Regions from separate parts of the Homo sapiens genome. Here all the other regions are linked to region 1. Evidence: promoter capture Hi-C in 16 types of primary human blood cells and fetal thymus (Javierre and others, 2016). All regions are on one chromosome and are shown on one strand. Each heading gives the region's core, a stretch centred on a gene start or on the middle of the fragment in contact. The rest is flanking DNA. Distances are from core to core; before and after follow the strand shown. Region 1 holds the start of TSC22D3 (TSC22 domain family member 3). Region 2 overlaps MORC4 (MORC family CW-type zinc finger 4). Region 3 overlaps TBC1D8B (TBC1 domain family member 8B).

Evidence for each region. The method cuts DNA at HindIII sites, captures the fragments that hold promoters and counts their contacts. A CHiCAGO score of 5 or more calls a contact.
Region 2: a fragment that was not itself captured here is called in contact with the fragment with the promoter of TSC22D3 in region 1 in 1 of 17 cell types (total B cells); the score reaches 5.5 in total B cells.
Region 3: a fragment that was not itself captured here is called in contact with the fragment with the promoter of TSC22D3 in region 1 in 1 of 17 cell types (monocytes); the score reaches 6.8 in monocytes.

Annotation. Positions count from the first base shown.
Region 1 is chrX:107,773,592-107,777,121 of GRCh38, forward strand. It overlaps TSC22D3 (TSC22 domain family member 3), which reads right to left and starts at 2,196. Exons shown (of 3, transcript NM_198057.3): 1 at 1,509-2,196. The coding sequence starts at 1,828. RefSeq lists enhancers at 965-1,542, 1,543-2,119, 2,396-2,445 and silencers at 2,208-2,502, 2,476-2,535. The HindIII fragment of the contact is 8,217 bases long and covers 777-3,530 here.
Region 2 is chrX:106,985,096-106,988,909 of GRCh38, forward strand. It overlaps MORC4 (MORC family CW-type zinc finger 4), which reads right to left. Exons shown (of 17, transcript NM_024657.5): 4 at 888-1,105; 5 at 1-148. Among named protein-coding and RNA genes, the nearest start is that of MORC4, 13 kb to the right of the region's middle. The HindIII fragment of the contact is 2,445 bases long and covers 703-3,147 here.
Region 3 is chrX:106,872,163-106,875,819 of GRCh38, forward strand. It overlaps TBC1D8B (TBC1 domain family member 8B), which reads left to right. Exons shown (of 21, transcript NM_017752.3): 21 at 1,408-3,657. The coding sequence ends at 1,803. Among named protein-coding and RNA genes, the nearest start is that of RIPPLY1, 29 kb to the right of the region's middle. The HindIII fragment of the contact is 1,911 bases long and covers 1,301-3,211 here.

The sequences.
Region 1 (3,530 bases), core at 946-3,445:
TTATTTTTAAAAATTCAGCCTGGTTTATTTTAGACAATGAGATAATTTGATGCCTAAAGTGAAATAATAGATGAGAAAGGGCTTCAATGGTGTCGAAAATGCCCGAGGAATACGACTTGTTATAATAACACTAACGAGGTTAGCGGCCCTGCTTGTCTTGCCCAGAATCACTGGGGCTGGGCTGAGCGGGAGGCGATGGTGGATTTGTCTTGGGGCAAGGGAGGCAAACCTGCTCTTAGCATTAAGTGAGAATAGCGCCTGCCTTTCTCGATTGCTTTTAAAATTTCCTATTTGAGCCTGCTTGCATTCTAAATATTTTGTAGGTGCTCAGAATTTCTTATCACTTTGTCTGGGCACATCGCCTGCCTACAGCCTAGAATCTCAGAGCTAAAAGGAACCTTGGAGAGACTAGAGAGGTCAGGCGACTTGCTCAGGCTCATACAAACAGGTGAAGCCATAACTTGTACTACAACCCAGGTCTCCCACAGTGGCGATGTCTTTCTCTTACATAACCTGTGTTGTTGAGCAAGAATAAATCCTCGCTTATACACTCACACACACATGTTGGTGCCCTATCCTGATGGCGCTAAGGACACTAAATCCATGGCTGGGTTTCCTGATGTTGTCTGCCCTGCCTCTAAATTGCCTCAGTTGTTCCCAGAGACTGGTTCTTGCCAGAGTGTCTCAAACTGAAGGACAGCAGCTGCCTTGGGTCTTCCCATTGTGTTTTTTCCCTCCCTTGTCCTCTCCTTGCCTCCCCAGCAGGATTTCTAGAAAGCTTGACCGGTACACCAATACACGCCTGCAACGACATGGATTCATCCGCCCTCCTGCCACACATAGTTCTTGAGGCACTCAAGATGTCCTAGGGTGCTCTCTGGGGTTGCGCTTAGCTTACATTTGAAATTTAACGCTGTGATCCATGGAGGAGGCGAATCCCTCCCATCCAGAGGCTCAAGAAATTCTCACAAGTCTCTGATTTTTAAAAATTTTCCCCTCCCCATCTCCCTCTCCTACCACCAGCAGTTTAATTTGTCTTGACATTTTGCTTGCCCTCACTGTCAGTCAGGGGCACTCAGTAATTTTAAAGCCCTTGTAGTTTCAATCTGATTTTGCACATTTGAGATGGGCTTTTGAGAAGGGTAGAACTTGGAACTCAAGAAGACCCCATGGCAGAATCTCCAAAGGGGCTATGGAAATGTATGCATTTGAGGAGCGGGTACTTTCAGCTACCTCCAAACCATCTGGGGTCTGCCCACCTTCTAGGCCCCAGCGTCCCCATCAGAAAGCCTTTGCAGGCAGCTTTCAGAATAGGGCTTGCACCTGCCAGTCCTCCCCTCAGCTCCGCGGTACTCCAGGCAACCTCAAGGTCCAGTCACTGTAGCCTGAGTCAGACCTCCCCAGTACCCCTCCTGAACTTCCTAGTTGCCCCTTTTGCCAGAGATGAGGGTGCAGCAGAGGCTGGTGGGAGCAAGGACCGAGTTGCCGCCGTGTGCCGAGCCACCCACCTGTGGAAGAAGAGCAGGATGGAGAGCATGGTCTGGTCGATGTTGCGGTTGCAGATGCCCTCGTTGATCAGGTAGCAGGGGTCCCGCAGCACCGGCTCTAGCGAATCCTGCCGCATTATGCTGTTGAGCTTGTCGGTATTGAGGTTCTCAAAGACCAGCTTTTCCTGCAGCTGCCGAAAGTTGCTCACTGTAGGGCTGCCCGGGTTGTTGTTCTCCCCGCTGCTGCCTCGCTGGAGCCCACTCCGATGGGCCAGGTCCAGGCAGCAGTTGCAGCAGTCGAGGCCGACAGGTGAGCGGCAATCGAGCTTGGACTGGGCCATCTTCTCAGGCTCGGAGGTCGCCTGGCCTGCGAGGTCAGGGGCGGCTGGCAGGTGCGCGCCCACCGAGCTGGCCTGAGGGGACTCCAGGGTGCCTGGAAAAGACAAGCTGTGAGGAAAAGAGTTGGAAATTAGCGCCTAAAGCCAGCCACCTTCGGCTCGGCCCCCTTCTGGCTGTACTGCTCCGGGTGCGAATAGAAACAGCTGGACAAACAGCTCCGAGCGGATCCTTCGGGCTCACTTCCTCCTCTTCCTCCTTCTCCTCCCCCTCCTCTTGAGGCCGGGGGCCGCCCCCCTGAGGTGCCACACGCGGCCCCAGCGCAGTCCCAAGTTTCCCAAGTGTGAGCGGGGATTGGGGCGGACCTGTGGAGGCAGGAAGGGCGGGCAGCAGGGCAGAGGGAGAGCCAGGGCGCGCCCTTGCTCCCTCCCTCCTTTGCTCCCTCCCTCCCCGGTTTGCAGGCTCTCAGGCTCTCGGGCTCCCCTGGGCTGTGACGGCTGAGCGGTGGCAGGAGCTGAGAGCGAGTGAGCTAGTTAGCGGTCTGCACGCCCGGGAGTCAGCACTGGGATATGACAGCATGTAAATTACCCTAGAGGGGACGGCGGAGAACGGTCCTCCGCCACTTCTCCGGCTGGCGGGCGGGGGCCCCGAGCGGCTGGATCCTGTCCCTCCACCCCTCGCCCCACCCCGCCCGCACCCTTGTGCCCTGGCATCCACGCTGCCGCTCGCACCCTCGCCCGCGCTCCTGGGAGCCGGCCCGGCTCTCACTCTCTCGGCGAGCCGGACGCTTCGGTTCAGGCTCTTTCAGCGCTCATGGCGCATCCTCCGCCAGAAATACGCACGCAGCCCACCCGGGCTGCCGTGCCCCCTCAGTGGCCCGGTCTCGCGGGGCTCGAGCTCGGCGTGAGGGCAAATGTCTCTAGTCTCACCTCGAATGGGTCCCCCTACAGAAGAGACGACGCCCTCGAGAGCCCCAAGTGTTGTAGCCTTAAACTGCCGCCCTCCAAAGCCCCCCTTTTTCTGGGGGGGGGGCGTGCAAGGAGAGCGGTTGCCTCTGCAGAGAGTCAGAGAGTGCCAGGCACACATTAGGAGTACCCAATAAATGCCGTAAGCAAAACTCAGAGAAGCACGCTCAAACTCTCCTCAGTTTCTGTCTCTTTCTGCTTACTTAACGATATCGTCACCTCCTTTCCCCAGCTCGCTGTGTCCTCTCTTCCCTGAACCCCTCAGAGGCAGTCTCTGTCCCGGTTTCCCTCTGCCCCTTCGCCGTCTCTCCTCAGTCCTCCCCTTCCTTCTCTCTGCTCTTCTGCTTCCACTCATTCCACTATTTCCCTTATTTTTTCTCTTTTCTTTACCCATTTCCTCTACTTTCTCCCCCATTTCCATTCTTTTACCTTTCTTTCCTTATTTCTTTTCTCCTTTTCTCTATTTCCTCATTTCCCCTTTCTCCCCTTTCCTCTTTTCTCTCATTTTTCTCTCCCCTACCCCCGCCATTTCCCTTATTTTCCCCTCATTTCTTACTTCAGCACCCCCTCTTTTTCCTCACTTCACTTACCTTCTCCTATTTCTCCAAATTTGTTGTCCTTCTCCTTTTCTGAACCTTACCTGCCACCTTAGTTGATCTCCGTCTGTCGTTACCCTTTCAATAGATGTAGCGATTGCATGTTCACAGGCCTGAGGGGCGTGCCCCAGCTCTGTAAGATGGAG
Region 2 (3,814 bases), core at 675-3,174, 790 kb before region 1:
CTGCGGATGTTCCAAATGAGAACACGAGTGCCTTTTTTGCCTGGGATGGCATCAAACTGGGCCAGCAGGTCATTTTCACGGTTGAAAATGGAATAGTTCAAGATGGCTTCTAGGCTGGGCAATGAATCCTCGGTAATAATCATTTTTTGTAAAATCAAATATAGTCAAAGAAAAAATAATATCTTAGGATGCTATTGAGAAGGAAGATCTGCCCTTTGGATTGCATATTTAGACAAAACTATAGACATACAGCATGCATATTACTGCTATAGAAGGAGGAAAGGTGAAAAATGGAGAAAGGTTGTAGAGACAAGCTCCAAAATCAGTTGCCCATGCAGAATATAGCTTCAAAGATATCATGTAAACAAAGTCTTATATTTAAAAGATCAAAGGCTTAATTTTTTAACTTCTTTGGAAGCAATAAGTTAAAACCTTATTGCTATACTGTTCCAGTCAAGAGAACCAGGTGTCTAACAGAAGTAACAGCTGTGCAGATATAGGGAAATGAGCTATTCTGCTATTATATAAGCTGATAAATAGTATGTTTCTAGGCCTATTAATGCAAATGTAGCTATCCTTAGGGGAAAAAAAAAAAAAGGAAGGCCTTCGGAGCTTTACCATGGGGTGGTGGTAGAGCAGAGATACACTATATAGATCAAACTGCCTAACAATGAAAATTTCAATATAGCAAAAACATTTCTAAGCTTATGTCAATGTTCTACTTGTTTTTTAAATGTTTAATAGAGAAAAATCCCAGTTAAATTTAAGACATTTGAATACCTCTTTTAAAACTTCTGACAGTTGGATTTGACCTGAAGTTGGAATCTAATCAAACACTCAGATTAGACTAATTTTTAACCAACATTCTCCATTTCCAGAAAGGATATTGTTTTGCTGGTTGAATGGAACAATTGGTACAATAACTGCCTGGGCCTGGACACATTCCAGATAGGTCTGTGATAGAAGTCCAACAGTGAGAGTACCCCCATTCTTGGTGAAGACAAGGGCGTCCTTTCCTAGCCGCATGGAGCCTGACTTGAAACCATTACCAAAGACCCCAATGGGACACTGGCTCTTCTTTATTACTTTATCTGTAAAGCCAAAGCTGCAATTACACAAGAAAAAACAAATCAGAAAAAAAGAAATCAGAAAGGTAAAAAGCATCCTAAGATAGGTGACAGGCAGAATATTTGGCCTACAAATAAATAACACTTGTAAAAAGTCCTTCCTTTTTTATTCCTTTTGGTATTTATGGGCAAAACTATTAAGTTAAAAACATAGGAAATTACTATGGGGTAATGGGACTAATTTTCCTGTGTGGTTTGTGTATACATAAATAGTTCCATTACGTTAGAGTCACACTTTATAAATGTAAAAAAGGGCCCCTTTTCACCAGCTAACGTAGCTGGAGAAGGCCTTGGGCAGCTGCCTTTCTTGTCTAGATAAAACAGCTCTGATTGCTGTAGAAGTAAAGTTAGGGTAAGGTGAAAAATGTAGTTATCTAGAGAGGGTAGCAAAAGTTCCAGATATTGTCATTGGTCAGAGGTACTAGATTAGGCATCTCCTAACCTGTTTATATCATCCTCTAGAAATCTGAAAGTCAGGGATCATGTATCTTGACAATTTCAACTCTCCACTCAAAGGATAACCCTTCCAATTCTTAGTCTCTGTTCCATCTGCTGGGACAGTTCATTGGAATGTGGCCAAAGGATAAAAATAGGTAGTTCTGCCTCTGAATATCAGCAAACAGTTGCAGTATAAAGTCTCTCTTGCTCCATTAAGGACCTTTCACTTAGGCGCCTCAACAATCTCTGTAGCCCCTTTTGATCAGCTTAATCTGGAAGCCAGAACCTTTCCCTTCCTTGTATTTTCCATTCAGGTACACACCAAAATAACAGAACTTTAAAAATTAAAAATAAAATGATTATATATCTTCCCTCACCATCAATAAAACTAATTGTAAGGATTGTTTCTCAGGATGAGAAGGAGAAATGAATAGAGTTTGGCAAATGAGTACAAACTTATAGTTAGATAGAAGAAAAAAGTTCTAATGTTCCATAGCAGACCAGGGTGACTATAATTAGCAATAATACATCACATATTTCAAAGTAGCTAGAAAAGAGGAGTTCCAATGTTACCAACATATAAATTATCAAGGTGATGGAAACCCCAAACACCCTCACTTGATCATTACACATTGTATGCATGTATAAAGTACTCACATGTACCCCATAAATATGTAAAATATTAGGTATCAATAAAAGAAAAAATCATACTAAAAAGGATTGTTTCTCTCCAGATTGACTAATTTTACAATGTTGTGCACTATCATTCATTCAATAAATATTTAAACTAAGCACCTACAATGTGCCAAGCATTGGGCTAAGCACTAGAGACCATTTTTAATAAGAGACATGATTCTTGCCTTCAGAGTTTATAGTCTAAGGAAGGACTTCATATATTACAGATTAGGTGCTTCTCAACATCAATAAAATAGATACTCTGGTCAGACCATGACTGAGCAGGCTGATCTTTAACAATTTTACTCTTTTGAGCATGGAGAGCGGAGGTATCTGATTTCTACTTCCTGAAGATTGCGGTTTTGTGTTTACTCACTAAGAAAGGGAACCACCTTTTAATTTTCTGTTTCAAAGCATTATACAATAATACCATATGTCCTCCTAGAGTAGATACTTTATAGGAGCTGTGTGTATCCTACAAATAAATCTAGTGACAGAAAAAGGTAATTTCCATGGCAGCAGTCCTTTGGGAAAAAAAAAAAGAAAAAGAACTTCAGTTTGTGTTGCCTATGGGCCTTAGTATTCCAGGATACAGACTTATAATAGTAAGATTCAGGCATTCCCATTTTTCTTGTGGAAGAATTGGCTTTTAAAAAAAATGGGTTTGTTATGAGGATTAAATTATATACTGTATGCAAAATACATTAAGTATAAAGTAGTATTCAAACATTAATTTTAAACTAACTCTAGAAGTCATTCTGATAGTTGTCATGTGCTATCCCCTACTCCTACTTCAGACCTAAGGTCACATCTAAAGCTCAGGGCTCTTCATAAATAGTAATCTTACACATCACTTCAAATGAATTTGTATCGTTAACCGGACTTCAACTTTCTCTTATACCACAAAAGCTTCAATTAGGTGATCAAGGGAAAGTGGTGAAAATAGGGAGATTACAACTCCCTTAATTTTTTAGCCTCTTCCACCATCTATCACCTCTTTTCCCCTTTGAAAGTATAAACCCTCACTGTGTTAATTTGAGGAGACCAAATTATGATACAAGGTTGAGAAGATAAGTAGTAGTGCCAGGCCAGAACCAGAATGGAAAAGGATAAGAATAACGAGAAGAGAGGAGCTATAAACTCTGGATTTTTGTTGTTGTTACTGTGTTTCACTTAACTCTTCCCGTGTGCTCTTTTATTCCACCTAAGTTCTCATGTTCGGCATTCTATTTAAATGCAAACTGGCAGAATCAATGTCAGGTACCAATCAAATAACTACCTAACACAAAAGCCCTCACCACACATAATAATAGAATTGTAATAATGAATTTGATAGTTTGCTATAGCTCAGTAATAATTTTCCACAGAGATAACTTGGTTTAGGTGGTTTCTATTTGCTAAGTCAGTCCTGCTCTATCCTCTCGTGTGAGAGACAACACTGTTTACACATCAAGGTGGCTTGGATACCAGCACTTTTAGTGGAATCCAAAAATACAGCAGCTTGCTCTGGAGTATCTTAAAATGTCAAGAATCCAGAATCCAGAGAGGTAAATTTAAATTGGGACTCTGCCATG
Region 3 (3,657 bases), core at 1,006-3,505, 900 kb before region 1:
TCACTTGAACCTGGGAGGTGGTGGTTGCAGTGAGCCGAGACTGCACCATTGCACTCCAGCCTGGGCGAGCTGAGATTTAACCATTGCACTCCAACCTGGGTGAGCTGAGATTTCACCACTGCACTCAAGCCTGGGTGACAAGAGCGAAACTCTGTCAAAAAGAAAGAAGGAAGGGGAGGGGAGGGGGAGGGGGAAGGAAGGGGAAGGGGAGGGAAAGGGGAGAGAAGGGAAGGGAAGAAAAGACTGTAACAAAGGACTATGGGAGTTGTGAACTAGGAACCCAGAAAAATATTTATATATATATATATATATATATATATATATATGGAATTCAGGATTAAACATCTTAAACAATTCTTAAACAAAAGCCTATGATTCTAATGTCAGTGACTTTTCATTCCATGGAAGCAGGTCAAAGTGCAGCCTAATTTATGCATAATTTTAACTATATTTCTGTCCAGAATTCTTGTTCACCCTCTGAGGACAGCTTCAAAGGGACTTTGCCTAATTAGAAGTACCACCTGGCCAGGCGCAGTGGCTCATGCCTGTAATCTGAGTGCTTTGGGAGGCCAAAGTAGGAGAGGAGCACTTGAGGCTAGGAGTTTGAGATCAGCCCAGGCAACATAGTAAGATCCTGTCTCTACAAAAAATGTGAAAATTAGCCAGGCATGGTGGCATGTGCCTATAGTCCTAGCTACTTGGGAAGCTGAGGTGTGAGGATCACTTGAGCCCAGCAGTTGGAAGCTGCAGTGAGCTATGATTGCACCATGGTACTCAAGCCTGGACAACACAGCAAGGCCTTGTCTAAGGAAAAAAAAATAGCACCTAACATTTAAGTAATGCTGGCAGGCAAACAGTCCAGGAATTAGTCTGGATAAAATGTACTATTAGGCAATAAGTGAGAGCACTTAAATGAAATTTTCTTCCATGGTTCATACTCATCTTTTTTTTTAAGATGGAGTTTCTCTCTTGTTGCCCAGGCTGGAGTGCAATGGCACGATCTCGGCTCACTGCAACCTCTGCCTCCATGGTTCAGGCGATTCTCCTGCCTCAGCCTCCCAAGTAGCTGGGATTACAGGTGCCTGCCACCACGCCCAGCTAATTTTTTGTATTTTTAGTAGAGGTTTCACCACGTTGGCCAGGCTGGTCTCGAACTCCTGACCCCAGATGATCCACCCGCCTCGGCCTCCCAAAGTGCTGGGATTACAGGCATGTGCCACCGCGCCTGGCCCATACTCACCTTTCTAGAACCAATATGTATTTTGGGGTTAATCACCAGTTCTTATAACTTCTAGGGTGAAGCTTCTATGGTACAAATCCTATATAGGAGACTATTCACTTCTAAGTTCTCTTTATATTTGCTAAGTCTAATATTCAAACGTGATATTTTCAACTTGTGTCTTCTAGTCTCAGTTTATTCAGTTTTCAAAGACCCTCTATAACTTATTTCATGAGGACCCTGAAGAAGAATCATTATATCAAGCCATTGCTGTTGTAACCAGCCTTTTACTCAGGATGGAAGAAGTTGGAAGGAAACTACATAGCCCTACATCATCAGCCAAAGGATTCTCTGGTACTGTCTGTGGTTCTGGAGGACCCAGTGAGGAAAAAACAGGGAGCCACTTGGAGAAAGATCCTTGTTCCTTTAGGGAGGAACCTCAGTGGTCATTTGCATTTGAACAGATTCTTGCATCGCTGTTGAATGAACCAGCATTGGTGAGGTTTTTTGAGAAACCCATAGATGTAAAAGCCAAGCTGGAAAATGCAAGAATTTCTCAGTTAAGGTCTAGAACCAAGATGTAAATCCCTAGGAATTGCCTATCATAGACAAGTTTACTAACATTCCTGTAGCTGTCAGTTTGATTCCTGTGAGTAGGGCTCAGGGATTTATCTTGTTACCAATGTGTCTGAAGGCCAAAATATATATCCAGAAGCACAATGCATCATTCCTTTGTTGTTGATAATGGGCTTTGTTAGCACTTTTTAAAACAAACAAACAAACAAAACAAAAAAGCAAACCACATTTGTTATCTCAAATTTTGATGATATTCTCAAATACAAATATACTTTTTTATATTTCACAATATATGCAATATCAGGGGAATATGCTAAATGTTACCACCAGAGGGCACAAGCATATCACTTTTAGTAAGGAAATTACTAGCTTGTGTTGCTATTTACATATGAATTACTGATTATTTTGAAAAGACGGTGTTATGCTTGGGTGTTAGTGAGGCTGATATGTCATGTCAATCGATAAACCCTACTTTCCAAATTATCTAAAAGATTACCATTTGGGGCCCTTGTTTTCAAGTTATCTAACTGAAATATTATTAATTTTTTTAAGTTAATCTCATTCAGTCTTCTAGTAATAAATGCTTTTTTAAGTACCTTCTACAGTCTTCCTACCTGAGGGGTTCAGAGGCTGCTGACTCACACTGCTAACTCTGTTACTGACAAAAGCAAATCAATAACTCTAAATTCTGGGCTGATATAAAGAAAAAAACAATATTGGATTTGGATTTAATCTGGGTAAAATCAGCCTTCTGAGAAGGGCTAAGAAACAGTTCAATTAACTGTATAGGTCTTTCATTAGACCGAGACATCACTAGAAATTCTGGGCACTGCTGTTTGTGGTATTTGTCTCAGAGTAGCTTATGACTGTTTTGGTTCTAGCTTTAGATTTTGGATTTTCACCAGTCATGTGTTAATTTACATTAGATAGTAAAGAATGGCTACACTAAGACTGAATTATCTTATTAGTCTGGCAAGCATATAAAGTATACTTGTATGTAATGATTGCCAAGGTAACAGAATTGCTGACATCTGTCTAAAAAGTTTTGACTATCCAATTTAGATGTGTAATTTCTATATACTTTATGCTGTTTATATTTCAGTCATTACACCAAGTCCATTTAGAGATAATGGGCTTTGTTAGCACTTTCAAAAAAAAAAAAAGCAAACCATACTTGTCCACTGTCCTGTGCTATTCCTACCAAGGACAATTTATTAATCAATTGACTTAGAAAATAGGGGGAGAAATCATTCATTGGAGCTTCTTTCTTTAGAAAAGACTTTGGTTATAAGCCTTTTGACTTTTCTAGATGTGAAACCATGAAAGGGCAGACCTCCTTCAGAGTGACTCAAGAGGTCTCCCTTTCTTGGAGGGAGTTGGTACAGTCAGCCTTTGGGAAGAATCCACTGTGAACAAAGCTTAACACATGGGGCTTCATCGCTCATAGAATATGTTATTTTCAAAGAAGTTCAAGAATTTTCAAGTTGAGCCTTTGAAAATCCCATAAATTGGTTTTAGCTAAACACTTACTAGTAGTGTCTTTAAATTATTTAATCAACCTTGTCTTTTCAAGGAAATTACCACTTAAAGAGATAGTTGGTAAATAAACATCTATGCCTTTTCTCAGAAATGATTTGCTGAACTATGTCCATATTTTACAGCTTAGATAATAGTTTATATGGAAACTATTATACATCTGCTATTGTGCAATGATTGTTAAATTATACTGAAGTAGCTCTAGAAAGACACATGTATACAAGGCACTATTGTACACACTTTGCTGAATATTTTGTCAGTTGTATTTACAAAGAAAGGTACTTTCTTAAGAGCATATATGTTATTAATATTTGATATGATTTTAA